Regions from separate parts of the Homo sapiens genome. Here all the other regions are linked to region 4. The links are contacts of gene promoters, found by promoter capture Hi-C in blood cells and fetal thymus (Javierre and others, 2016). All regions are on one chromosome and are shown on one strand. The core of a region is centred on a gene start or on the middle of the fragment in contact, and the rest is flanking DNA. Distances in the headings are between cores, read along the strand shown. Region 1 has its middle 59 kb from the start of COX18. Region 2 has its middle 22 kb from the start of COX18. Region 3 overlaps COX18 (cytochrome c oxidase assembly factor COX18). Region 4 holds the start of ADAMTS3 (ADAM metallopeptidase with thrombospondin type 1 motif 3). Region 5 has its middle 40 kb from the start of COX18. Region 6 has its middle 130 kb from the start of COX18. Region 7 overlaps LOC105377273 (a long non-coding RNA gene).

Region 1 (3,666 bases), core at 768-3,267, 440 kb after region 4:
TGCAGAAAATGGGCTAAGCCTCAAAAAGTATCACAGAAAAAAATAAAACATTCATTTAACATTTTTTCACATTCACTTACAAAGTACAATTTATTCTCACATCTCTCTCAAATTTTTCTGCACTGCTCATACCCAAAGCCTACCCCATCCCAGTAAATGGCACTGAAATTCATTCAATTGATTACACTTAAATCCTAGGAATCATCTTTTTTTTACTCCACACCTCACATCCAATCAATCAGTACATCCTATCAACCTTACTTCCAAACTATATTCCAAACCCAGCTGCTCCACACCATCTCCTCCCTATGCAGCCAACCCAAGCCACCATCATATCTGGTCTGGAGTATTTTATAATATTCTCATTGGTAGTCTCCCTGCCTCAAATCTTACTCCCTGATGATCAAAAATCTACTCTCCAAAAAACAAATCAATTGATTTTTTTCAAGTCTAAATCAGATCCCAACATGTCATACTAAAAACCCTTCATTGTCTTTCCTTTGCAATAAAAAAAAAAGTCCGAAACTACTTGTCAGGGCCTCCTGACTCTAGGTGTTCTGTCCCCCTCTCTGTTCTCATATCCCTCCCTGTTCTTTTTTCTGTTCCTTGTGTAAAATTGGTCATCTTCACACTTCTGTTCTTTTTCTTGGATATATACAAGTTGTCTCATTAAGGTAACAATTCAAATGTCGTCTCCTCAAAGAGGCATTCCATATGCACTCTAGCTAAAGTAGTGCTCATCTCAACATTCCTCACTAGCACTTCTTCATAGCAGAACTGGCATAAGATTCAGATCAGAAAACAGAAAAGATAAGATCAGAAAACAGAAAAGATAGGTCAATTGAGAATACCCAGGGAAAGAAACAGAAAGAAAAACTAATGAAGAAAATGAACAGAGCTGGACACCTGTAGGAAACAATCAGGATACCTGAATACACATAATCAGAGTCCCAAAAGGAAAGAAGAAAGAGAAAGGTGTAAAAAAATTGTTAAGAAATAATGACCAATAACTTCTCAAATTTCGTTTTTAAAAAACATTCATCTACACATCCAAGAAGCCCAATGAATTCCAAGTTGGATAAACTCAGAAAGCAGGTACATTGTTCACTGCTGCATTTGCAGATCCTAAAACAGTGCCTGACACATAGAAGACCTTCAATAAATATTTGTCAAATCAACAAACAAATTAATCTTCATTTCACAAAATAGAAACCTGAAGCACAAAAAACAGAGTAATTTGCCCAAAGCCAAACAGCTAGTAAGTGATGGAATCTGGTTCTAAATCCAGGAAGTCCAGCTACATGCAACAGAGCCCTCAATCTTAATCCCACACTAGTCTACATCACGTACCAGCCCTAGTGGTACTAAAGTGTTTGAATCTGCATCTTCTGTGTGAAACCCATATTGCATAATTAAACACCTCCTGCTGTTTTTTCTGCTTTCATATGAAGGACATGACGTTTCTGAAACATCACTCCTCAGATCTTCAAAGACAGTGAAGTATAGTGAAAAGAAATGGCCTCTAGTGTTACACAGACCTTGATTTAGATCCCTAATTGGGCTGTATATGAGCACTGTCACCTTAGATGAGTAATTTAATGCGCCTGCCAATTTTCACATCTTGTTAGGCATAGACAGTTATAATATTTGTACAACACACTGGGTCAAAGTAGCACTTGGTCAAAGGTAACTGGCTTGGGAATCCAACAGCCCCAAGCCCATCCCACCCATCGCCAGGGCTAAGAACATCTGAGTAGTCCTACAATCTATTTGCAAACACAACTCTCAGCACGCTCTAACTTACCCAGCTTTATTATCTTTAAAAATGGGGCTTTGGTTCATAAAACAGGATAAATGATGTCTACTTCATAGAGTACTTGTGAAATATAAATGAAACATCATAGACAAAATGTTTACTAGTCTCTATTACCATGCTAGGTGCTCAGTTAATGGCAGTCATGATCATCATGGTATTAATATCAGTGGTAGCATTTGTTCACAATTTCCATGGGATCTCTATAACCAAGGAGCAGCCTGGGCCAGATTCACCATGCGTGTCCATTTCTCTGCTTCTGATAACAATGAAATATTCTTGCAGATTACTTTTCGTTTACTACTGATGGCCGTGGCAAGCCATCTGGAGCAGCCATTGTGACAGGAGCAGCAGTGGTAGCAGTGGGTCCCCTGTGCCTTATATACCCTGTGCCCCATATCCCTGAGGCAGCTGACTGTGCCACCCCCAATCTCACACAGCCAGGCATGACCTGGCCCCAGGCCCAGATTCACTGCTGCTCCAGACCCTGGCCCCACATCACCACTCTCGCCCATTGCCATTGCAGGTAGGGCATGGAGAGAAGTGAACAGTCCCCTGAGCCCTCCCCTGGAAGCTCCCAGGAGCCCACCACCCTGGGGGCTGCTGCAGTGGGGTGAGGTCAAGTCACCTACCAGCTAGGGAGCAGCATGGTCAGGCACAAAGTGGTGGGCAGAGAGGGGCCTCGAGACAAAGCTGGACCCGTGGTGGTACTGCACCTGCACAAGGAACATGGCAGCTGGCCCAGGGCACAGAGCTGGGGCCATGCTTCAGGGGTCAGGCCAGGAAATGGGCGCCACACCCACTTCAAGGACCTGGCCAGCAGACCAGCCACCATGCCCACCCCAACAACAGTGCCAGGTTCCTGCACCTAGGGAGGATGCTGTATGTGGGGTAGCCCAGGGCCACATGCCTAGGGTCTGCCCCACATCACAGTGACTGCAGAGCCTGACCCTCCTGATGGCCAAGACTGGGGCCCACAATCCACTCCTGGAGTCTCTCCCCAGGCAGGGCCAGGAGCCAAGGGAGGGAGAGCCCTGGGCCACCCCTGAGCACCTGGCCATGGGAAGAACTCACAGCAATGTCTCCCCTGCCCCAGATGATGGCCAGGGTGCAGGGAGAACCTGGAGCCCCTGCCCCAAACTGCAAGGAGGTGTGGGCAGGGCTGCATGCTCCACAAAGCCAGTGGGAGCCAGGGACAAATGGGAGTCCCACCCCTTCTGAGTTGGCAGGGCAAGAACTCCCTGGGTGCAGCTGTGGCCACCCTGCCAAGGCTGTGGATCCATGTATCTTTGCACTCTTGGGAGCCCACAAAGGCAGCCCTGTCTCCTGTGGGCTCAAGGGTGCCTGCTGCTGCTGCCTGGCTTCTCCCTGCTGTTGGCTCCTGCTCCAATCTTGGAACAAGATCAGGGCCGAGCCCAGGTGCTGTCACAGCCCAACGGCAGCGGGGGAACACACTCAGAGCAATGTTGACATGCCAGCCTCCTGCCACCTCTTGGCCCCTCCGGATTTGGGGTGCTGACAAGTAAGGGAGGGAGGTTGAGGAGGGGCTGAGGATAGTCAGGTGCTGGCCTGCAGGCACGCCCTGGCACAAACAGCCTGGGTTCCATGAGCTGTGGGAGGAGGCAGACAGGGTTCTGGGTGGAGGGGACCAGTCTGGTGAAGCCCCACCTTCAAGCTGGGGAGGGCCTGAAGCCTGGGGGCCCAGCCACCAGTCCCCTGGACTAGAGGGGGAACTTGTGGTGCTTTTCCCTGGGCCCACCTATGGCCACCCATGGAACAATCAGCACAACTTCCTCCACTCTGAGGCCCATAAAAACCCCAGACTCAGCCAGGCTTGAGGAAAGAGACAATGG
Region 2 (4,098 bases), core at 790-3,289, 480 kb after region 4:
TTCTTAAGGGCTTAGGATTTTTCAGAATGGTACATCAGCGTTGGCTTCAACTGAAAGTCACCAGCTGCATTAGTCCGTAGTATGAGTCAGCCTGTCCTTGGACGCTTTGAAGCCAGGCATTGACTTCTCCTCTCTGGCTATCAAAATCCTAGATGGCACGTTCTTCCACTAGAAGGCTGTTTTATCTACATTGAAAATCTTTTGTTCAGTGTAGTCACTTTCATCTGTCATCTTAGGTAGATACTCTGGAGAACTTGCTGCAGTTTCTACATTAGCACTTGCTGCTGCACTTGCACTATTATGTTATGGAGACTTCTTTCCTTAAACCTCATGTACCTACCTCGGCTGGCTTCCAAGTTTTCTTCTGCAGCTTTCTCACCTCTCTCAGCCTTCACAGAATTGAAGAGAGTTGGGCCTTGCTCTAGATTAAGCTTTAGTTTAAGGGAATGTTGTGGCTGGTTTAAACTTCTATCCAGAGCATTAAAACTTTCTCCATGTCAGCAATCCAGCTGTTTTGCTTTCCTGTCATTTGTGCATTCACTGGAGTAGCACTTTTAATGTCCTTCAAGAACCTTTCCTTTGCATTCACAATGTGGCTGTTTGGCACAAGAGGTCTAGCTTTCAGTTCATCTTGGGTTTTGACATGCCTTCCGATTTAAAATGAGATATGTCGGTCTTCCTTTCACTTAAACACTTAAGAGTCCACTGTAAGGTTATTAATTGGCCTAATTTAAACATTGTTATGTCTCAGTGAATAAGGAGGCCCAAGGAGAGGGAAAGGGATGGGGGAATGGCCGGTACTGGGGCAGTGAGAACATACACGACGTTTATGGATTAAGTTCACTAGTCTTATAGGGGTATGTTTCATGACACCACAAAACAATGATCATAGTAATATCAAAGATCACTGATCGAGCTAGACATGGTAGCCCACACCTGTATTCCCAGCACTTTAGGATGCTGAGGTGGCAGGATCACTTGAGGCCACAACTTGGAGACCAGTCCAGGTAATATAGGGAGACCCCATCGCTACAAAAAATATATATACATATATAGTTTATTTTAAAAAATAAAAAAATAAACACTAAGATCTCTGATCACAGATCACCATAACAGATATAATAATGAAAAAGTGTGAAATATTGCAAGAGTTGCCAAAATGTGACACAGAGACACAAAGTGAGCACATGATACTGGAAAAAATGGGGCTGATAGACTTGCTTGAAGCAGGGTTGGCACAATCCCTTAATGTGTAAAAAGCACAATATCTGTGAAACACACGAAAGCAAAGTGCAATATAAGGTATGCCTGTATATAAAATAAACATACATAGATACTATACATATAAATGTGCATATATGTATATATTAACGTCTTCAAATAGAAACACACAAAGAACAAAGCTATGTATTAATTCATTAACATGGAACTCACAGCCAACAGCATTATAACTCACTCCTATAATATGTAAATAATGAGGATTGACTGCATTTTAAGTAAAATAACACATTATCACATAGATATAGAGTATAAGTTCCAATAATTCATCTGTAAGTCTTTCTCTCTGTTGGGGAGGGGATTAGAAATAAAGATGAGGAAGAAGATATTTCATTTTAAGATTGTATTTTGTTGCGAGTTTAATTTTAAATGGGAACTTGTTTTTGTTTGGACCACAAAACAGAACATTTAACATCTGTACTCAAAAACAATATTGATAAGCATAACTGAAGCTTCTATAATAAACTTTACAAGAAGAAAATTTCTTACTTTTAGCAGCCCACGAAATAAATTTTAAATAGCATAGAAGAAGCTGCAAATTCTCCCTATAGGTACAGATTTTATATTTTTAGTATGTCCACCCTCAGAGGCATCCATCATTCACTGAAAATCCAGGAAACTTGAGGTTTGTGGCAATAAAAGTGACTCTATATTGGATGCTAATCTGCCATGTTGACTTCTAATTAACCCCAGTCCTAAAGACGCCTCCTGAGTCCTATTTTATTTACTGTCCTTAGTGTAAGAACATGCCGGCCATTAGATCCAAGCAACCTTGATGTTATCACACAAATTATAGGCTATGACCACATAGCAGTCTTGCCTCTTCTGGAGGTTTGCCTTTAACTGTCTCTATACAGCATGTACACCCTTTCCTTATGGTATAAAAGCCCTGGGTCTGGGGAGTATTGATGCAGAGGCCTACCTGTCTTGCTGCTGCCCAAGACCATGCTTCCATCTCTAAGTTCCCCAGTAAATCATCCTTTACTGCAAACTGGTTTTGTCTGCCTTGTTCTTTGGTTCCTTGGGTCCTTCTGCATTTGGGGGCTGCTTTGTGCATGTGGCCCTTTCACAGAAGCTTATAATTAGAAAAAAATTCTTCAAATTATTAATTGTGCAACAGTTGGAACATGCAGATATACAAAAACACAAATGCTATCAAATGAATATAGTAAGGTATATTTCATATTCCATTTTTATGTTGTCCTGCAGAGCTATAATTTTCCCAAAAGACAAAAATCAAAGCTAAATTAAATACAATACTGCCTTCCCAATTCCCAGTTAAGGCAAAACAAATGTATTAAGAATTGCCTCATCAGAGGTACAAAGAGAGGGAAGCATGCCTGTGAAATCTCAAAATGGAAAAGAGAAATTGGTCATTTTCCAAAGTGGCCTCTTTCTAATGAAATTCTAGCAGAGATCTTCAAGGATAGAAATTTGGGCCAGGTGTTGGGGCCAGAACAGGAGTTCAAAACCAGCCTGGACAATGTAGCAAGACTCCATCTCTACAAAAAATTTTAGAAATTAGCTGGGAATGGTGGCATGCACCTGTAGTCTCAGGTACTCAGGAGGCTGAGACAGGAGGATTGCTTTAGCCCAGGAATTCAAAGTTGCAGTGAGCTAAAACTGCACCATAGCACTCCAGCCTGGGTGACCAAGTGAAAATCTGTGTTCCAAAAAACAAACAAACAAACAAACAAAGGATAGAAATTTATCTTTTGTTGCCTTAGAATAATTCAATAGGAATGGTTGAGGTTGCTTTCTTGAAGCACTGATTTTTATTTCAGGTCTTTCCATTGATGCGTTTGTTCTAAAACACAAAAAAAGTCCTTATTTTATAAAACAAAACCAGCAGTATAGGACTAGGCAATTGAAAGTAAGGCTACCTTGCAACACTTACCTAAACACCGGTCAATAAAGAAGGTAGTCAGTTGTAGAACACAAGGAAACATGGTCCCTCTGTTACTCACGCTTTGGGTAAAGTTTTGTCTCCCTCAAGTTCAAGTTACAGCCCTCCAAAAATTTAGTGTTGTGAGAAGTAGGCAAGGCCTGTTAGGAAAGTGCTTCCTTAGTTTTAATATAGTTGATTAACAAAACTTGAAAATTTTCTAGCTGTTCCTTGCCTGCTATTTGTTTTTCCTTTTCTTGTGCTATCAGCCAGACCTTGTGGTTCTTTTTTTTTAAGACAGGGTCTCACTCCTGTTGTCCAGGCTGGAATGCAATGCAGTTGGAGTTACCTGGTTCACTGCAATCTCTGCCTCCCAGGTTCAATTGATTCTCCTACATCAGCTTCCTGAGTAGCTGGAATTACAGGCATGTGCCACCACACCTGGCTTATTTTTGTATTTTTAGTAGAGATGGTGTTTCACCATTTTGGCCAGGCTGGTCTCGAACTCCTGACCTCAAGTAATCCACCCACCTCAGCCTCCCAAAGTGCTGGGATTACAGGCAGTGAGCCACTGCACCCTGCCAACCTTGTGGTTCCTATGGATGTATATCAACCAGGATCAAAATGCTTTTATACGTAGTGTTTTTTTTTTTTTTTCTCTGAGACATTGTCTCACTCTTTTGCCCAGGCTGGAGTGCAGTGGCATGATTTTGGCTCAATGCAACCTCTGCCACTCGGATTCAAGCAATTCTCCTACCTCAGCCTCCCAAGTAGCTGGGATTATAGGCACGTGCCACCATGCCTGGCTAATTTTTGTATTTTTAGTAGAGACGAGGTTTCACCATGTTGGCCAGGATGGTCTCCATCTCTTGACCTCGTGATCCGCCCGCCTCGGCCTCCCAAAGTGCTGGGATTACAGGTGTAAGCCACCGCAC
Region 3 (3,834 bases), core at 137-2,636, 500 kb after region 4:
CACCAACCACAGGGGACTGTGCTAGTGCTCTTAGGGAAACATATTTGGACTACAGGTAGAGTCTTTCCTCAAGAAACTTTCACTTAAGACCTTATATTCTATCATCTCCATTTTCCTCATCTGAAAGAATAAGGGGTATATTAGATTTCACAAACAGGCATCAGAGGTCATGAGGTCTGGGAGATCTCTACTGAGGTAAATCATTTTTAAGATTTCTTCCAGTCCAGTCTGTTCTACTCAGAGTCTGAGAACAATTTATGAAATTATATGCACGCTTTCCCTAAACTGCTGAGTAAAGCAGCCTGTGATAAGGGTTAAGACATGACTGAGAGGGCTGGGCACAGTGGCTCATGCCTGTAATCCCAGCACTTTGGAAGGCCAAGGCGGGTGGATCACCTGAGGTCAGGAGTTCGAGACCAGCCTGGCAAACATGGTGAAACCCTGTCTCTACTAAAAATACAAAAATTAGCCGGGTGTGGTGGTGTGCGCCTATAATCCCAGCTACTCAGGAGGCAGAGGTTGCAGTGAGCCAAGACTGCGCCATTACACTCCGGCCTGGGCAACAAGAGCAAAACTCCATCTCAAAAAAAAAAGAAAAAAAAAGACATGACTGAGAGGTCACATTTTCTATGTGTATGTTTTTCCCATTTCATCTTATAAAGACATTCAATGACTTTTCTAAGGTCATAAAGCAAGAAAATAGCAGTCAGGGCCTGACTTGTGTTCTCCGCCTACAAATTCACATATTAAACACACACACGGAACATCACTCTATTTTAAGAATACAACCAGATTGACTGGGCATCTTTATTACTGTTTTTGCCAAAAGCAAGTCACAAAATTCTATGTATCAGAATCATATAATTTTGAAGCTGAAAGAGACTTGGAAGTATACTAGTGCTTTTACTTTAATTTCGAGAGTTCTGAGGCCCAGAGAGGTTAAGGGACAGGCCTAAGCCAATGCCTGACGTGGAACCAGGAACCAAGGGATCTCACTTCTAACTCAGAGCTATCTTCACCAACTCAAACAAAAACAGATTTGAAGTCAAAACAGCAGCAACAAAAATCCCCATAAATGGCAAACAAATTTCATTTAAAACTACTGACCTCCACTATTAACAAATTGATGACGCCAACAGAGATAGGCAGAATCCAAGTGGAGTCGGGTGCAGTGAGGTCAGGAAACCACAGAATTCCACCAGTAGCTAACTGTTCCTGAACAGAAAAACCTGCTAAAACAGTTTTATAAATAAAACAATAGAAGTCCTAAAAATAGCAGAGAAAAATATATAAGACATAAATAAGTAGTCTGACAATTCCAATAAGGTGTCCCTCACAGGAAAGATCTGCACTGGATTTATTCCAGTTTTTCACGCACAATATATATATTTTTTCTCAATACAAAATGTTCACAACACAACCAATCTGTTTACACTTAAGACTTTAAATTCTATACCCTTATAAGGAAGATAGTAAACATATCGTAATTATGAAAAGTATGCTTTTTTTTTTTTTTTTTTTTTTTTAGTACAAAGACAATGTTAGAGAACTTCTTTGGGAGAAGACATACAATAATTACCTTCTGAATGTGCTGCCCCCGTGCTTAAATTCCGGAGAGCAAAAGACATGAAGATCCACATTGGAAGCTGAATCCAAACCAACACAGTGGCTTTGAAAGGGTGGCAGTTATCTCGCACATATAGCTCTGAAATTAGCCTCCTCATATTCTTTAGATAAGTGAGCCTAGATTGAGGTTAGGGGGAAAAAAGGGGAAAGAGAAAATGTCATCTAAGAATCGTGCTTTATTTCCATAGCACAAATAGCGCCTGCTGTAGTTATTAGCTAAAGGATTTGTATAAGGGTTTCAGCTGTCACAGGCATGTTAAGGAGTTGCCTAAACAACAGGCAAATAAAGCCTTTTATCAAAACTTCTACAGTATGGTACACAAGTTACATAACAATCTGAAATTGTCAGACTACAGGCTTTGTCTCTGGTGGTCTTTGGCTGATTAGGCTTTAAAGGTAAATTTCACTACTGACATGGTATAACTACAATTAATATTGGAAATATGGAAGCTAAAAGCAAACTTTAATCAAATCTCTCCACTCCCGCCAAACTTAACCACTTCATCCCTGAATATACCTTTTGGAGCTATGTGGTTTTATACTGTGTATGCTCTTGGCCTGTCAAAATAGTCTCCATTTTTCAATCAACTATCTCACAAAGATATTTTTAATCTGTTTCTCTGTTAACCATATTAGTTACTACTGTTTTTTCCTGAAATTTTACTTTTTAGAATACAGTCTTCCTTCAGGTCCAAGAGAATAGGAGTTAAAAAACAAAAACTAAAGTATTCTTAGTTTAGGGGACAGTGTTCTATTTTATTCATCTTTAAATCTCCTGTATCATATATTTTGTACAGAGGAGGCATTCAATAGTTTTTCTGAATTTAGTCAAATTATAGTGTATAATAAGACAGTACACAAAGACATTCTAGGTCCTCCATAATTTCACATTTGCCTATTCTTCCAATTTTATCTCGTTACTCCTCTAGACACCTGCATATTCTGGTCTGAATGACTTTAGTTCATCCAACAAATCAGACTTCCGCATAGGCATGCCTTTGGAAGTACTGTATTATATCATCTGTGTGGAAAGCCCACTTTCCTGGCTGTCCATCTGACACACCGTCTTTTACCCTTCAAGACTCAATACTATTGAAAATGCAGGAAGCTGGCCAACACTGTGGCTTGCACTTGTAATTCCAGCTACTTGGGAGGCCAAAGTGGGAGGATTGCTTGAGGCCAGGAGTTTGAGATCAGCCTGCACAACACAGGGAGATTCTGTCTTGTTCAAAAAAACAAAAAAGAAAAGAAAAGAAAAGAAAATGCCAGAAGCCCTCAGATGTTTCCTCCTAGAAAGAAACATCTGTAAGGCTGTATCTGCACAACCATCCTGCCAGTACTGCTTAAGCAAGGTGCCACAAGTCTTATCTAGGCTGCGTTGATAACCCAGGCAAGCAGCTATTAATCTGGTTCTTTTGGCCTATGGCTGAAGCTTTCGACTTCTTTGATAAGTAAAATTTCAAACCTATAGGTCAACTTTTAATTTTTACCAAATAAAGACATTAAGCTATCACCACGATTTTTTAAAATGTCAGATCTTTTTAACACTAAATATAGGACACAATCTCGTATTAAAGATAGTTGGGAAATGTACAACTATATAAAAATATATGGTTAATAATATACACATAACACAGATTGATACCACAAAGGCCTTTTTCCATTGCTGTAAAAAGGAGAATAATTTTTCGCAGTCTAGTAAGGATTAGAGTTTGGGAAACTGATTGAGGAGTTGATTGAAGCAAGAGGGCTTGTAAGTTCCCAGTGAATGAATGCAGACATCCTTGGGCGCAATCAAGCACCCTTAGATTGGGACTTTCCAAGAACCCAGGCAGACAACTGCACAGAATAACCACAAAGGATAGACAGCATCTTAGCTATCAAAGTGTTTCTACTGTGGCACTTGTTTTCTACCTCCTCTTTCCTGTAGGCTATTACCTGCTGTATCTTTTCCAAAAGGTCAAGATTGTAAATAACCTGTGTCATTTGTTGACCAATATCACAAAAGAATGGCAAAGTGCCTTCATCCTGTGAACCCTGCCCTGACCTTCCTTGATGATCTAGCTCCTTGTACATCATCTTTATATAACAGTTAGTTCACTGACATCATTATTTGATTACAGGTCTGTCTTTTTCAATAGGCTGGAATCCCTAAAGAATAGGAACATACTCTTCTTATCTTTATCTATTTATTTCTTTGCTTTCAGT
Region 4 (3,988 bases), core at 359-2,858:
TTTCATTTTAATTTAACACTTATGAAGCCAGCAAAAATACATACAGACTCTCAATGCTCTCTTCTGAAATGTCGTACTGGGTCTGGATTAGAAAAGAAAGTATGAATTTAACAGGCCAAAATACACCTAACAGGGGGCCTGATTAATCAGATTTAAGGTCAGGAATCAACTAGACAATTCTCTACTTTTTACCCTATGGTCGTTCAGACCAGGCCGACCGGAGAAGCTACAAAAACTAACAGAGAAATTCTGTACCCAAAGTCCCATCGGCCCAGTGCTGATATGATTTACTACAAACAGCTCCCCTGGCGGAGCCTTCTCAAGGACTCTTCTGAGAGCATCGGGCTTCACCTTGAGCCTCCAAAGGGTTGGGGGCAGGGCCGAAAAGAAACAGAGCTGCACTCAACTTAGCTTTAAAAAGAGGAGGAGTTGTGCAGAGGGGGAGGGGAGAAGGCGGCCGGCGCCTGCAGCCTCTGCCCAGGAAAACGGAGGGCAGGAAACGTCTCCAGCCCCCCTCCCCAACTGTCAAATCCTAGCCCGGCCGTGGTACTCCCAGGACACGTGTCTACTGGATCTCTCCCTGTCCGGCCCAAGGACTTCCTGAAACCCCCGCCTCCGGCTGCCCGAAAAAACCGTGAGTCAGTTCGGAGGAGAGAAAGCTCCAGGAACCCGACTCTGGCGGCAGCAGCCAGAGCGCTGGGATCCCGGACCCAGCGTCCAGAACTTCATTCAAGCGCCCAGACCGCCCTCCAGAAAGGGGAAGCCCAGATGGCCCGGCGAGGATGGGAACTGGCTGCGGTTTGTCACTAGGAATTGTTACGAATGTCGCAGACTGGTGAAGCCCTAGGTGTGACAAGACTGGGCTCCCGGAGTGGGAGTCGTAACCTCCCGTGCAACTCAACCCTCTACCCCCAAAAGCCCGCACGCTGCGCCCAGCCCTCAAAACACCGTTTCTGAACGCAAAAGATAACAGGGAAGGGTGGGAGGAGAAGGAGGAAAGAGAGGAGGGTAGAGAGGGGAGGAACTTTTCGGGAAAAGGTTGGGTTTGAGTTTTTTTTTATTGTTATTATTTTCCACTTACTTGTCCATCAGCTGAAGTCCTAACCTCTACCAGAGCGGCTGCTATCAACCAAAGTGACAGGAGAACCATCACGAGTCGAGTTCACTTTCCAACTACTGGGCAAAGCAAATGCCCAGAGCAAACCCACCCCCCCCGCCCAAAATAAGTTTCTTTAAGAAAAAAAGGAAAAGGGAAAAAATGCGAAATAGAAAAAAATGATCTTCTGTGCTTTGCTTCAATGAAAATGAAATTTGAGCTCTGAGACTGGCCCCCTCTGCTCTGCAGTTTTTTCCACTTCACCTTCTCACCCCGTCCTCCCAACACAGAGTGTGCAGGAGCGAGAAGGTGCTGTAAGCGGGCACAGGCTAAGCCTGGGAGAGGGGGAAGGGACGAGGGGCTTTCCAACTATCTCTGCCCAAAGCAGCTTTTTCGAGGCTTTTCGAGCACCATTGGTCCCTAAGGTTAGCGCGGAGAATGCTTGGGTTCCCCGGAGCACAGCAGGGGGAAGTATTAGCGAGAGAGACGAGCGAGCGGGAGCGGGAGAAAGAGGCAGGGAGAGGGCGACTCCGCCGCACACGCAGAGGTGGGGGCGGGAGGAGCGAAGGGGAGGAGGAGAAGGCAGGCGGAGGAGGTGGGAGGAGTGGGCCGCTCGCCGGCTCCTGTTGCTCGCAGCGCGGCAGTCTGCTGGCTGCTGGCGACCCGCGGGGCGCTAATAAGGCGTCCGGAGCTCCCCGGACTGCCCCTCCCGCCGTGGCGCCCACGTCATGCGGGGCCCGAACCCGCGCCCCCCGCACCGTGTCAGGATTGGAGACCGCTCGGGGGCTGGTGTGGCCCGGGCTCGACCTCCCACCCTGGAGCCTCTCCTTCTCCGCCTAGGGCGAGAGGAGGGGAGGGTCCAGGGGCGCCACCGGTCCCGACTGGCGGGACGCGCGTTGAGTTAATTATAGGAAGGGGGAGGGTCCGAGGGCTGGTCCTGGGCTGTAGGAAATTCACCTCCTCCAACCTCCACTGTTCTCCCAGCCAGAGAATTCTCCCCGAAGAGAAGCCCTGGAACCTCCAGATCTTAACCACGCGGTGATCTCCCTTCCAGGCACCAGTCACCTCCCACGTTTTGGCAGGGGGTGTCCTTCTTTGTAAGCTCTTGTTTAGGCTTTATTCGTTTATATTAGTTTTAAAAGATACCACGTCCTTTCCTTGACTCACCCGGATGCTTCCGTTTATCACTAGAGTACACAGGCCTCAGCGACTCTTCCTCACACCCAGATTAAGTTATCAAATGATTTCTGCCCGCTGTGGCCTGGCGCTTCCTGAGGGGAAATGACACCAACCTGAGAGTTTGCTGGAATCCTAGCCCAGGCCCACCTCCCAGGCGTAGACACCTGTGGGTGCTTTCCAGAAAGCAGACAGGAGGAAAAGGAAATAGCTCCAACCTCCACTGACCGGTCCACGAGCCAGGAGTGAGTAGACACAAATTTAGATACGAACTTCAAGACTTCAACTGGACAGTCTTGAAGAGGCCTGCCCACAATAAAACGAGCTAGTGTTTATCTTGTTATGAGATGCAAGATAAGTCATAGTTCTTGTTCTTTTTTAAAAGCAATGTGAGTTTGGAGGGTTTCCTATAACTTCGATTCATTGTTTATTCCTGGAGAGGTAACGTGATGGTTGTGCCTTTAACTTAAGCATGGAAAGATTTGGTGTTCACTGATGTTTTATCTGCTAAGTCTTCTCAAAATCATATATCGAGGACATTTACATATACAAATGAGAAACTAGGTAACTAAATGGCCCCACCTAGTAAAACAGGATATTAGGTCAATTAGTTATTAATTGGAATTAGAATTAGACCCCAGCACTGAAGTATCTCTAAATTACTTTTTTCCTTCAATTAAAGCCTGTAGCATTTTTGTAACTTGTCATTAACTAGCTATCCAGGAGTGATTTGCTACATTTTACACCGAGTTTGTCTATTCATTAAAAAGAAGTAACCCTAAGCATTCCATAAATGAAAAATCTGTCAATTTACACTGACAAGTAAAAGAACACTAGAGATACACATTAGGAGATCTAGGTTCTAGACCCAGCTAACAGCTGTCTTACCTTGACAAGTCAGAATAAACCTCTATTTTGGTTTCTCCTCTATGAGATATTTGAGATCTAAAATCATCTGATTTTAGGTAATAACAAATAATGTATTTAACCATGTTATTACAGTAGGCCCTTTTGTGTTAATTTTACAACATTCAGACATTAGTTATCACCTAACTCCCGGCATAGCAAGCAATTCATGTGACTTTCAGGAAAGCAGCGGCTTCAGACATTTTTGGCCATCACCACAGAGAGAAATGCATATTGCATAGCGACCCAGTAAAAATTTCATGATTCAGTACTTACCTGTACTGCATGCAACAACCCTGATATTTTTCTTGCCATTCTTTCCCTGCAACCCCAATTGCAGATGAGCACTCAATTGATTTCACAACCCAGCAAGTCATGACTCTCACTTTGACAAAGATCAGTTTAAGAGCATGCAATAGGGTTTTTTTTTAATTCTAAATGAGTTCTAATTAATAGGGTTCTCCTAATATATTCTAAGGCAGAGTTTCCCAAAGTATTCCCTGGAATATTAAATGTTTTACCAGGAAAAGGAAAATTCTCAGACAGCCAACTGAGCTCATGAAATACTTAGATAAATGAAACAAAATGGCTCTCCTTATTTCAGACTTCAGGGTACCTATTTAAACAAACACATTTGTAGTCCCAGCTACTCCAGAGGCTGAGGCAGAAGAATCGCTTGACCCCAGGAGGCGGAGGTTGCAGTGAGACGAGATTGTGTCACTGTACTCCAGCCTGGGCGATAAAGCGAGACTCCGTCTGAAAAAAAAAAAAAAAAAAAAATTGTGAGTCTTCAAGGGGGAGATGTAGTGC
Region 5 (3,803 bases), core at 724-3,223, 460 kb after region 4:
AGAAATAGGAACACTTTTACACTGTTGGTGGGACTGTAAACTAGTTCAAGCATTGTGGAAGACAGTGTGGTGATTCCTCAAGGACCTAGAACTAGAAATACCATTTGACCCAGCCATCCCATTACTGGGTATATACCCAAAGGATTATAAATCATGCTGCTATAAAGACACATGCACATGTATGTTTATTGTGGCACTGTTCACAATAGCAAAGACTTGGAACCAACCCAAATGTCCATCAGTGATAGACTGGATTAAGAAAATGTGGCACAAAAAACCAAACACTGCATGTTCTCACTCATAGGTGGGAACTGAACAATGAGAACACTTGGACACAGGAAGGGGGACATCACACACCGGGGCCTGTCATAGGGTGGGGGGAGGGGAGGAGAGATAGCATTGGGAGATATACCTAATGTAAATGACGAGTTAATGGGTGCAGCACACCAATATGGAACATGTATACATATGTAACAAACCTGCACGTTGTGCACATGTACCCTGGAACTTAAAGTATAATAAAAAAAAAATTGCTAGCTACAAGGATAGAGCAGCCAGGACTATTTCCCTGAGTTAACTTTAAGTCATGATGCCTGAACCACAACTAGTTATCTAGTTGCAGTTTTTGCAGCTGCACCAGTGCCCCGTGTTCTGCGGCAGGAACTCCTGAGAGAGTTGAGGGCTCTTTTCTTCAGGGAGACACATTTTTCTACTTCTGATGTGTGGGTAAGAGGGCATGCAATGGCAAACTGTTAGGAAATCCCATCTGAGTACTGGAAAAGACCCAAGGAAGCTGGGACTGATTTAGAATAGAGTTCAAATTTATACCTGTCAGATCCCTGCTACCTCAAGCCATGAGTGTTGATGCAGCCAGGCTGTTTTCCCCAGACTAGGGGAATTAAAGATAAGTAAAATCCAAGGAAAAGCTTGCAGGTTAAGTTGGACAGTCTCTATTATTTTCCTGTCACTATATGAGAAGCATGGCTCACTCTCACCTATAAGACCTAACAGAAAACTTTTGTTTATTGTGAGGAAAAGAAAAAAAAAAAGGAAAAATAAAAGAAAAAAAAAGGAGAGAGGAAAAAACAAACTCTTTCTCCAAGTACCTCCTGAAGTGTTCTTTCTGTCTAATGGGGGATGGCAGAATATGCCACCCCAATATATACCACTTCAGCATAAGAATTACTTTGCATTAAAGGCGTTTGGAAGCCAGAGGTGCAGGAAGATGGATTCTGACTTCCTCTTTTCTTTTCAAAAGCATGAGACAAAACGCCCACGTGAAAGATGCCCTCCTTATACCAGAAGAAAAGAAATATCCTTATCACCAGGCACAGGGAGTCGAGGCAGAGAGAATTTTGTACAAAAGGACCTTCATAAAATAACTCTTATCTTTCTTTCGTTTCCCCATATACAGGCAACCCTCATTTTATAGTGCTTTGCTTTATTGCACTTTGCTATATTGTATTTTTTACAACTTGAAGGTTTTTGGCAATGCTCCTTTGAGCAAATGTATTAGTGCTATTTTCTGATGGCATGTGCTCATTTGGTGTCTCTGTGTCACATTTTGGTAATTCTCACAATATTTCAAATGTTTTCATAATTATATCTGTTACAGTGATCAGTGGTCCTTGATATTATTATTGTAATTGTTTAGGGGCACCATGAACCATGCCCATATAAGGCAGTAAATTTAATAGATAAATGTATGCATTCTAACTCCTCCACTGACCAGCCGTTCCCCATCTCTGTCCTCCTTGGGCCTTCCTATTCTCTGAGACACAACAATATTGAAATTAGGCCAATTAATAGCCCTACAGTGAACTCGTGAGTGCTCAAATGAAAGAAAGAGTTGCACATCTCTCACTTTAAATCAAAAACTAGAAATGATTACATTCAGTGAGTAAGGCAAGTCAAAAGCCAAGGTAGGCCAGAAGCTAGGCCTTTTGTGCCAAACAGTTAGCCAAATTGTGAATGCAAACGAAAAGTTATTGAAGGACATGAAAAGTGCTACTTCACTAAAGACACAAGGGATACAAAAGCAAAACAGCCTTATTGCTGAAAAGGATAAAGTTTTCATGATTTAGATAGAAGATTAAACCAAACACAACATTCTCTTAAGCTAATGCCTAAACCAAAGCAAGACTCCAATCGTCTTCAATTCTGTGAAGGCTGAGAGAGGTAAGCAAATTACAAAAGAAAACTCGGAGGCCAGCAGAGGTTGATACATGAGGTTTAAGGAAAGAAGTTGTCTCCATAACATAATAGTGCAAGGTGAAGCAGCAAGTGCTCGTGTAGAAACTACAGCAAGTTCTTCAGAAGATCTAGCTACGATAACTGATGAAAGTGACTATACCGAAAAAAAGATTTTCAATGTGGACAAAACAGTCTTGTAGTGGAAGAATGTGCCATTTAGGATTTTGATAGCTAGAGAGGAGAAGTCAATGCCTGGCTTCAAAGTTTCAAAGGACAGGCTGACTCATATTATGGACTAATGCAGCTGGTGACTTTCAGTTGAAGCCAATGTTCATGTACCATTCTGAAAATCCTAAGCCCTTAAGAATGATGCTAAATCCATTCTGCCTGTGCTCTGTAAATGAAACAACAAAGCATGGATGCCAGCATATCTCTTTACAGCATACTTTACTGAATATTTTAAGCCCACTATTGAGACCTACTTCTTAGAAAAAAATATTTCCTTCAAATTTTACTGCTCATTGACAATGCACTTGGTCGTCCAAGAGCTCTGATGGAGATATACCAGGAAATTAATGTTGTTTTCAAGCCTGCTAACATAGTATCCATTTTGTAGCCCATGGATCAAGAAATAATTTCAAGGAGTAATTTTTCCTTGAAAAATATATTTCTTAAACATGACTTAAAGTTGAAATTACTGCCATGGTTAGTGATTCCTCTGATGGATCTGGGCAAAATACATTGAAACCCTTCTGGAAAGGATTCACCATTCTCAATGTCATTAAGAACATTTGTGATTCAACGGAGGAAATCAAAAGACCACTAATAGAAGCTTGAAAGAAGTTGATTCTAATCCTCACGGGTGGCTTTGAAATGTTCAAACTTTAGTAGAAGTAAGTGTAGATGATTGCAGACGATGAAGAAATTGCCACAGCTACCCTAACCTTAAGCAGCTGCCACCCTGACGAATCAGCAGCCATCAACATCAATGCAAGACCCTCTACCAACAAAAAGATTACAACTCACTAAAGGTAAAGGGTCAGATAATTGTTAGCATTTTGAGCAACGAAGTATTTTTTAAATTAAAGTATGTACATAGTGTTTTCTTAAACACAAATTCATTTATTATAAAATACATGAAAGAGAGTTTCAACTCAGGAAGTTATCAACAGAAGTTTATGTCAACAGAAGTTATCAAGAGTTAGCCACATTTATTTTTCAAATATAATTTAATGAAATAGAAATAATAGTAAAGTTAAAAAGAAAATCTAAAGCTATTTATTTTAATAAGTAAATTATCAGATAAGCTTTGCCAAGTCTAAACAATTGAACAAAAGAGAATAAACATAATAAATCCATAGGAATAAATAATATAAAATATTTTATATTATAAAAGAATAATCTATTTATACCAATACACTTAAAAATAAAAAAATTGTCTAAAATTATTTTAAGAAATATAAACTACCAAAATTGGCTTAAAGAATAAGGCTGGGCACAGTGGCTCACATGTGTAATCCCAGAACCTGGGAGGCCAAGGTGGGAAGATCACTTGAGGCCAGGATTTCGAGACCAACCTGGCCAATGTGCTGAAACCCTGTCTCTACTAA
Region 6 (4,208 bases), core at 1,482-3,981, 370 kb after region 4:
ATAATATAATTAGAAATAGTAATTCTTTCTTTCTCCATTGTAGACAGGAAATCACTAGCATAACAAGTAGTGGCTTCAGATTTACTTAAAGATAACACGTGAATGAGTTATCCAAAAAGAGTTTGTCTCCCTTAATGATTAACACATTTTATGACAGTCCTTCAAATGATGGAGAAATACTTCCCAACATCATATTGCCTTCTGTAGTTCCTGCACATAAAATATCCCTTTCCCTGATGCAGAATTTCTTTCACCCTTTTTTTCTTTGCTCCTTTGCCAACTGTATTTTTATAGATGTTCTCCATCACATTTAACTTTCAATGTGAGTGCTGCTGTCTGAGGAAGCAAAGAAAAGAAACTCTAAGATGAATATAATTTGAATGTGTGAAGGGAGAACTCTTGGAAGAAGAAAAGAACGTTCTTAACTGGTATACGTAAGTGTACGACTCTGTATTCTATATGATTGAGTATACAAATATATAAAATATAATGTTCAGTTTTACGTGGATAACAAATAGTAAGCTCAAGTACTTATTTGATATAGATTTTAAACTAAGAAAAACCATTCTACACTTTTTAAATGTCAGAAGAAATGAATTGTTAATAAGCTAAAGACAAAATCACAAGGTTTAAAAAAAATGGCTCAGATATTCACAAGCCCTCTTATCTGTCTCTCATCTCATTCTCATTGGCCGGGCGCAGTGGCTCACGCCTGTAATCCCAGCACTATGGGAGACCGAGGAGGGCAGATCATGAAGTCAGGAAATCGAGACCATCCTGGCTAACATGGTGAAACCCCATCTCTACTAAAAATACAAAAAATTAGCCTGGTGAGGTGGCGGATGCCTGTAGTCCCAGCTACTGGGGAGGTTGAGGTAGGAGAATGGCGTGAACCCGGGAGGCGGAGCTTGCAGTGAGCCAAGATCGCGCCACTGCACTCCAACCTGGGTGAAAGAGAGAGATTCCATCTCAAAAAAAAAAAAATAAAATAAAATAGCTCAGATATTCACAAGCCCTCTCATCTGTCTCTTCTAGTTTCGTATACACTGTTAGTGTTACATAAAATCTATTGTGTTATAATGTGATCCTGTGTTCCTAAAATTTAGTTATCCAAATTCATGCAGTAAAAACAATTGTTTCAGTGGAGGAAAAAGAGATTGGGGGCAAGAGAGTTGCAAACTCAACAATAAATTTAGTTTTCCTGCAAGACTTTCAGTAATAAAATTGGCTTCTTAATGAGTTTAAGTACATAGCTATAAATGAAACTTATAGTTCTTGATAATGACTCAAGAAAGAGATCTTGCTTTCATATTATTGCACTAAGATTAACACATTATTTCTGAGTTTTATAATGTTTTTTATTCATTTTTATGAAGAACAAACATCAACAACAGATATGCTACTGCAAGCCAAGAATTATTTTACCCCTATATTCTGGATGCCAGTTTTTCATTATGATTTCTTGCATTACAGCCATGTGTTCTATGTAATATAAGTCATATTCTTTTATTAATCATTACTTTTTAAGTAAGGAAAAATGGCATTTTTTTCTCAAAATGAGTATTAGCAAAAGAGTTAAAATATAAAAACCATAAACTCACTGATAAGGTCTCTCCTTCCTCCACAATGACCACAAGATTTAAGAATATGGAAGGTACCTATATGCGAGGACATTTTAAGTGCTGCTCCTGCTTGGGACTGGGAACAGAGCATATGATAACTATTCTCTTTCTCAAGGGGTAATCTATAAATCATTATCAGTAGACATCTAAAAAGGTATTATGATACATGTAATTTGCTCTAAAATAGTTCAGCAAAGACAATGTAGTATTTAAATTAATACGCCAGTGAGTTTAAGTTTCCACTCTAATGTAAGAAATTACTCTATAAAGGAGTAAGGATACTTACTCCAAGGATAGTTAGCAGGTATTATTTCAGAAAGGTCACACTCCGAGGGGGGCACTGCAGGCATTTTGATTAGCCTTATCTCTTCCGTCAACAGCTCAGACTTCACTAACCAGCACAGGAAGTATCAGAAATGGCTTTTATTAGCAACTTCACTGGTTTGTTATTTAGCAAGATAGATTTCAGAAATAGGCTCGAGGTATTCAGGACATGAATTAGCTAAAATATTTTCATGATTTTTCCTAAACATACTTGAACAGAGTCTACGAATCTTGGAAGCTTCTGTCCTGCACCCTTATAGGTAATGATCAGGCTTGATCCTTAAAAGTCCTCCTTTGAGCTCTTGGATTAGGAGGAATTTCAGTTGCCTTGTTCTTACTTCTGTATTGATATATATGGTTCCTCAAAAAAAAAAAAAATCATTCTTGTAATGAAGTGGCCAAAGCATCTAAAAAGACAGAAGACTGGGACTTCATCAAGCTTACCTAACAAAGTATATAAACAGCTGTGTCTCTATTTGCCAAAATATCTGAATGTATGGCATTTTTGGTTTAAGAACTACTTTCATTATGACCAAGTAGCCAGGTCATAGGAGAGTAACTTAGAACAAAAAGTTCCAACAAAAAGTGCTATAGGTGATTTAAGACTGGTCATATGTAATCTCAAAGTTTATGTCCTAGTCCCAAGCTAAGTTTCTATATGGTACTGAATAATATCTTATTAAAAGAGAAATTATATTTATTCTTTTAATTCTGCTGAGGGCAGCTTAGAAGGAGTAAGGGATGAGTGAGCTTGGGAAAAATAGATGGCATATAGTTAACTGCTGCAGTAGTTCTTGGACTAAAAAATTTTGAAAACTACGGCTCCAGAGGAATTTTCTGGTTCTTCTGCCTCCTTTGGATGACAATATTCCCAGAATAATAATTTATCCCACGGATAAGGCAAAAGAATGGTGAACAGAGAAGCACAGAAAAACAACTTGAGGAGACAGATGACAAATTCATCAGGTGAAGGATGATTTTTTAAATTTGAGCCTGAATTTTCAATATCTCTTAGTTTCCAAATCATCTATACTCTAATGCTTATAAGAAATGGGAACATCATGTAATTGAGTGAAATTAACTGGATGTAATCCTGGTGGATTGGAAAGCACATACCTTATCTAAAACAAGAAAAGCTTCCCAGTTCCTGTCAATAGCAGCCAGGTTGAAGCATGGGTCAGATCTTCCCATTTTTCTAGAGAATTCCAAAATACATATTAAATAGGAAATCTCCTAAACGTTGCAGGTTTACTATTAATACTGCTGCAGGAAAGGATTAACTCAGCAGGTCTGGGTTGTCCACATCCTACCCATTCCAATGAAAGGTTGCCTGGTTCCTGGAATGTAATCTCTAAAGCCTTGGAATATTTTGTTCAACAAGAGTATTTTGTTTACATAAGGGTCTTGGACCACACCAGACAGTCTATACTAAAATGTAATTAGTGTTGGGGCTTTGGACCATGTGGTATCTGCTTGAGCTCTAGAAGAGCTGGCGACAAATGTCAGGCACACAGCCAGTCACCCATAGTTTTGTGATCAACCAACAAAAACACTGCATGTCAAAAATCAGGTGAGCTGCCCTGGTTAGCAATATTCCCTGTATGTTATCATACTTTGTTGTTGGCAGAGGACAAGTAGAAGAAGCTTGTGCCTGATGTTCCCTGAACTTTACCCTATGAACTTTTTCCATTGTTGATTCTAATCTGTATCCTTTTGCTGTAATAAGCCATAATCATGAATAAAATAGCTTTTCTCTATTCTGTGAGTCCTCTACCTAATCATTAAACCTAAGTGTGGTCATAGGGAACCCCAAATAGAAACACTAATGTTTAAGATACCAGATAGAACCAACTACATGGGGCATATTTGGGTGCAGATCATCAGTTTGGAACTTCCGATCTCTAATTCTAGCTCCCTGTGCCGAGGTCAGTGTTAGAAATAAGCAAATGCCAATGTTGAAGCAGAACACTGATGCAGAGTAGGCACAGGGGAGTTTTTGATTGACTTTAGGGGAAAGTTTAGGGAAAAAATTCTGGGGAATTTAAACTGGGTTGAACTCACTGGAAATTAACATTTGTCTTCTTCGGGTAGACACTGAAAGGATATCAGGGTTTTTGTAGCCTTAAATTTAATACAGAGACCAAAGTTATATATTTAATTCTAAAATTTGCCTCTAATTCTTCTTTTGTGTGTTGATTCATAAAAATATGTGATGTTACTATTCATGTCACTGCTGCTTAGTTACTTCTTTCTGGGCCTTAA
Region 7 (4,108 bases), core at 987-3,486, 410 kb after region 4:
ACACCTTAAATATCTCTTTGATTCTTCTTGACATCCAAAGAGCACTTTTCACTCCTTTTAAAATTTTTTTAGAGAAATCTAATTTCATGTTATCAACTTTCCAATATTCATCTTCTACAAATGGCTGGTAGAATAGGTATTGGGTAACTTTCATTTTTAACAAATTTATATGTCTATGAAAATCAAGATGGTTGTTTCTAGAAACCATATTCCACCCCCCTAAATTTAATGCATTAAAGTACCATTTATGAAGAATCAAGTTCAAATTATCCACAAAAGTGCATGCCTCTCAATGTTCAACCATGGGGAAATGACTTACTATACATATGGTGAATTATGTCACCCTGTAAAATGATAATGATAAAGACCATTTAACAACATGTAAAAATGTTTATAATTTATGAACCGGATTGCAAGTTTAGAAAAATTAAATCACTAAACAGACCAAAACTAGGAGGTAATATGCAATAATAAAGTAATTATGGTAGAAAGTCTATATATATATTTTTCAGTTCCTTACATTTTTCTATACAGCCTGATTTTTCTTTAATGTGCATGTGTTATTTTGATAATTATGAAGAAAGTGGTAAAAACAACTTAAACAATAAATAAAATCTTATTTCTAGCATCTTCCTTTTCTGTACTTTTTAACGTTTTTTGGTGGGGGGGCTTTTTTGGAAATGCTCAGCAGTCTCCTCTGTACCCCTCTGCCACTTCCCTTAAAAAGGGAGCCCCTCGGCTGGGTGCGGTGGCTCACCCCTGCAATCCCAGCACTTTGGGAGGCCGAGGTGGGCAGATCATGAGATCAAGAGATCAGTACCATCCTGGCCAACATGGTGAAACCTCATCTGTACTAAAAATACAAAAGTTAGCTGCGCATGGTGGTATATGCCTGTAGTCCCAGCTACTCGGGAGGCTGGGGCAGGAGAGTCACTGGAACCCAGAGGTGGAGGTTGGAGTGAGCACAAATAGGGCCACTGCACTCCAGCCTGGGTGACAGAGTGAGACTCCATCTCAGAAAAAAAAAAAAAAGGGAGCCTCTTTTGGCACACCCCTTCAGAGACTTACCCCACTTTTACAATCCTTCAAATTCCTATGTGTCCCATTTTCACTGGCCCTACCCACTGGCTAGGTGCCTTTTAACTATCTGTTTCCACTTGGATATTTTAACAACCTACCTGAAGTTTAGTTTCCCAACTGTAAATAGTGATAATACCTCTTCATATAGTCATTATGAGGATTAAGGAAAGTAATAGATATAAAGCACTCAAATTAAGGTGCCCACCACAGTTGCCACCATTACACAATACCAGTAGCAATATCAATAACAGTACTAATAATACCCAAATACATATATGTGTATTTTAACAAAGTTTTGGTCAAAAGAGACTTCAAGCAACAGAAAAGACCTGTGGAAAAGTTACTTCAACCAGAGCACATGGTAAGAAACGTTAAAAAAGCAAATGAGATTCAGAGTCTAAGGGATTACACTCAATTCCCCAGCTGGCGAATGGAAGAACAGAGACAGGAACCCCAATGTCCGGGCTCTGAGTGTATTGCTCTCTACATTTGAACATCCTCATCAGTGCTCAGCACTTGCCTGGATGGCTAGTACAGCTGTCTGCCAAGAAGATGTCCTTGTGTTTTTCCTCATTGCTGTACATACAGCCTTCAGACAATTCCATAGCTCCATGGACATTTGACCACCCACAACTCAAGAACAACTTTCCTTTTGCCATTGGCTCTTAGCACACATAAATTGCTAATCCTTTCTTAAACTGCTAGGTGAACCTCAAATTCTCATGGGACTCAAATTTCTTCCAGAGGGCTCATTAGGTAAAGGGAGATTCCAAGGAACTCTTTCCTGATTGTTCCTCACTGGAACAGTTCAGTGTGAAAAATAATGACCACTCCTAAGTTCATGTACCTAATTGCCTCTGTCTATCCTGTGGCCTTCAATTAAAGTAAGATCACCATCCGGTTTTTTCCAACTTTTTGTAGCAAGATTGAGAAGGGATGGGGTGGGTTTTATTGGACACTGAGAGGAAGGTTCCTGTAACAGCCACATAAAGAGGTAATGTGGGAAAGCCAAAGTAAGCAGACGGATTTAAAACCAGCTGGAACACCACCAGGAAAGAGGTTAACACCCTAAGCTTTCCATGAACTTTTCTACTGCGAGTCCTAAGCCAGAGGATCCTTCATCATCAGAAATGATTGGAAACCTGGTTTCAAACTCCCTGGAAAGATGAGACAAGAAATGCATAACAGGGAAGGATTTACTTAGGTTAATTGATTAATTAATGACCACACTTCAACGGCTCAAGCTTACTTTGTGGGTGTAAATGTATGAGTAATACTCAAAACCACAAACCTAGGAGCAATAAAAGAGCTTGGGTTGAAAGTTCTACTTTCAGAATTATCCTGATTTTCCTCTGGGCAACTAGGGAGACGAAAATAAAGAAACCAACAGGAAAACTCATAAATCTGTGACTCTGGAAGGAGAGGGTCACATTCTACTTGGAGAGAAGACGCTTTACCCAGGTCCAGTAGGAATTACTTTCTGTGATGTGTTGGGAAGTGAATCCAGAGCAGAAAGGTCCTTTTCAATTTGTATCTGGACTCGTCTACCTCGCCATTTTGTTCACCCACACATTACCACTGCCTTTACCCCAGGTGAGCTCCACACACCAAGTCACCTTTGAAATAGAATTACACTTCTGATGGACCTACCTCCTAAATAGCTCTCCAACCAGGGATGAGTACCTGGGGACCCAGTAGAACCCTCAATTTGTATTGACTCAGAACCCAAAAGAAAACAGAGAAGAACATGTGAAATTATCAAGGTTTTTGGTCAATTCTCTGGCTATGAGTTAGTAATTTCTTTCCACCAGATTTCTGGCTTCTCCTTGTTATGGTTGAATTGTATTAACCATTACCCAAATTCATATGTTGAAGTTCTAACCCCCAGTACCTCAGAACGTGACCTTATTTGGAAATAGAGATGTTGCAGGTATAACCGGTTAAGATGAGGATATACTGAAGTAGGGTGGGCCCCTCATCCAGTATGACTGGTGCTCTTATAAAAGAGGGACATTTGGACACAGACACTCACTGAGGAAAAATGATGTGAAGACACACAAGAGTCATGTGATGACAAACGCAGAGATTAAGAGTGGTGCGAGCCAGGGAATACCAAGGATTGCCAGCAAATGCCAGAAGCTAAAGTGGTAAGCAAGGATTCGCCCCTACAGACTCAAGAGGGAGCCCTGCTGACACCTCAATTTCAGACTTTCACACTCTAGAACTGTGAAACAATAAATTTCTATTGTTTTAAGCAACCCAGTTTGTGGTACTTTGTTATAAAAGTGCTATTTTAAGAGGCCGGGTGCAGTAGCTCACACCTGTAATCCCAGCACTTTGGGAGGTGGAGGCAGGTGGATCACAAGGTCAGGAGATCGAGACCATCCTGGCTAACATGGTGAAACCCTGTCTCTACTAAAAATACAAAAAAAATTAGCTGGGCGTGGTGGCAGGCGCCTGTAGTCCCAGCTACTTGGGAGGCTGAGGCAGGAGAATGGTGTGAACCCAGGAGGTGGAGCTTGCAGTGAGCCAAGATCCCGCCACTGCACTCCAGCCTAGGCGACAGAACGAGACTCTGTCTCAAAAAAAAAAAGAAAAAGTGCTATAAAAGTAACACAGTGATCTATCACTGAAATTTCTGTAATGATCTATCAAACGGACATATTTGTTAAACAAATATGAAACTAGCTCACTTTGAAAAATATTTGTTACCCACTTTAGAGTTTCACTTTCTCAATTTCTGAGAGAAATTTCAACAATGAATTTGCCAAAATTTATCAAATAACTATTTACTTTTTACTCTAATTACAGTCTCCTTGTTTAGGAACTAAAGTTAGATAAAACTAGGGCAAAATCAACCCTACATATCGGAAATTAAACATTTTAGCTTCCTCCTCCCCACTGATTATGTAAAGAGATAGTTTTTTAAGAGTAAGATCATGACTCTCATATAAAGTTATAACTCTCATATAATGTTAACACATGTTGATATGGTTAGGCTTTGTGTCCCCACCCAAGTCTCATCTTG

The links. The method cuts DNA at HindIII sites, captures the fragments that hold promoters and counts their contacts. A CHiCAGO score of 5 or more calls a contact.
Region 1: a contact is called between a fragment that was not itself captured here and the fragment with the promoter of ADAMTS3 in region 4, in 1 of 17 cell types (megakaryocytes). The highest score is 6.5, in megakaryocytes.
Region 2: a contact is called between a fragment that was not itself captured here and the fragment with the promoter of ADAMTS3 in region 4, in 1 of 17 cell types (erythroblasts). The highest score is 6.7, in erythroblasts.
Region 3: a fragment that was not itself captured here is called in contact with the fragment with the promoter of ADAMTS3 in region 4 in 1 of 17 cell types (erythroblasts); the score reaches 7.0 in erythroblasts.
Region 5: a fragment that was not itself captured here is called in contact with the fragment with the promoter of ADAMTS3 in region 4 in 2 of 17 cell types (endothelial precursors and megakaryocytes); the score reaches 5.8 in endothelial precursors.
Region 6: a contact is called between a fragment that was not itself captured here and the fragment with the promoter of ADAMTS3 in region 4, in 1 of 17 cell types (megakaryocytes). The highest score is 6.6, in megakaryocytes.
Region 7: a contact is called between a fragment that was not itself captured here and the fragment with the promoter of ADAMTS3 in region 4, in 1 of 17 cell types (endothelial precursors). The highest score is 5.4, in endothelial precursors.

The regions. Positions count from the first base shown.
Region 1 is chr4:73,008,601-73,012,266 of GRCh38, forward strand. No RefSeq gene overlaps it. Among named protein-coding and RNA genes, the nearest start is that of COX18, 59 kb to the right of the region's middle. RefSeq lists an enhancer at 2,968-3,666. The HindIII fragment of the contact is 4,210 bases long and covers 1-3,666 here.
Region 2 is chr4:73,046,033-73,050,130 of GRCh38, forward strand. No RefSeq gene overlaps it. Among named protein-coding and RNA genes, the nearest start is that of COX18, 22 kb to the right of the region's middle. The HindIII fragment of the contact is 623 bases long and covers 1,729-2,351 here.
Region 3 is chr4:73,063,671-73,067,504 of GRCh38, forward strand. It overlaps COX18 (cytochrome c oxidase assembly factor COX18), which reads right to left. Exons shown (of 6, transcript NM_001297732.2): 3 at 1,580-1,743; 4 at 1,108-1,232. Among named protein-coding and RNA genes, the nearest start is that of COX18, 4.1 kb to the right of the region's middle. The HindIII fragment of the contact is 3,339 bases long and covers 1-3,056 here.
Region 4 is chr4:72,567,613-72,571,600 of GRCh38, forward strand. ADAMTS3 (ADAM metallopeptidase with thrombospondin type 1 motif 3) reads right to left here and starts at 1,609. Exons shown (of 22, transcript NM_014243.3): 1 at 1,082-1,609. The coding sequence starts at 1,150. The HindIII fragment of the contact is 9,487 bases long and covers 1-3,988 here.
Region 5 is chr4:73,027,584-73,031,386 of GRCh38, forward strand. No RefSeq gene overlaps it. Among named protein-coding and RNA genes, the nearest start is that of COX18, 40 kb to the right of the region's middle. RefSeq lists a silencer at 1,089-1,383. The HindIII fragment of the contact is 2,099 bases long and covers 925-3,023 here.
Region 6 is chr4:72,940,800-72,945,007 of GRCh38, forward strand. No RefSeq gene overlaps it. Among named protein-coding and RNA genes, the nearest start is that of COX18, 130 kb to the right of the region's middle. The HindIII fragment of the contact is 697 bases long and covers 2,384-3,080 here.
Region 7 is chr4:72,975,968-72,980,075 of GRCh38, forward strand. All of the region lies in intron 1 of LOC105377273 (a long non-coding RNA gene), which reads left to right. It overlaps LOC107986286 (a long non-coding RNA gene), which reads right to left. Exons shown (of 3, transcript XR_001741718.1): 3 at 3,621-3,635. Among named protein-coding and RNA genes, the nearest start is that of COX18, 92 kb to the right of the region's middle. The HindIII fragment of the contact is 171 bases long and covers 2,152-2,322 here.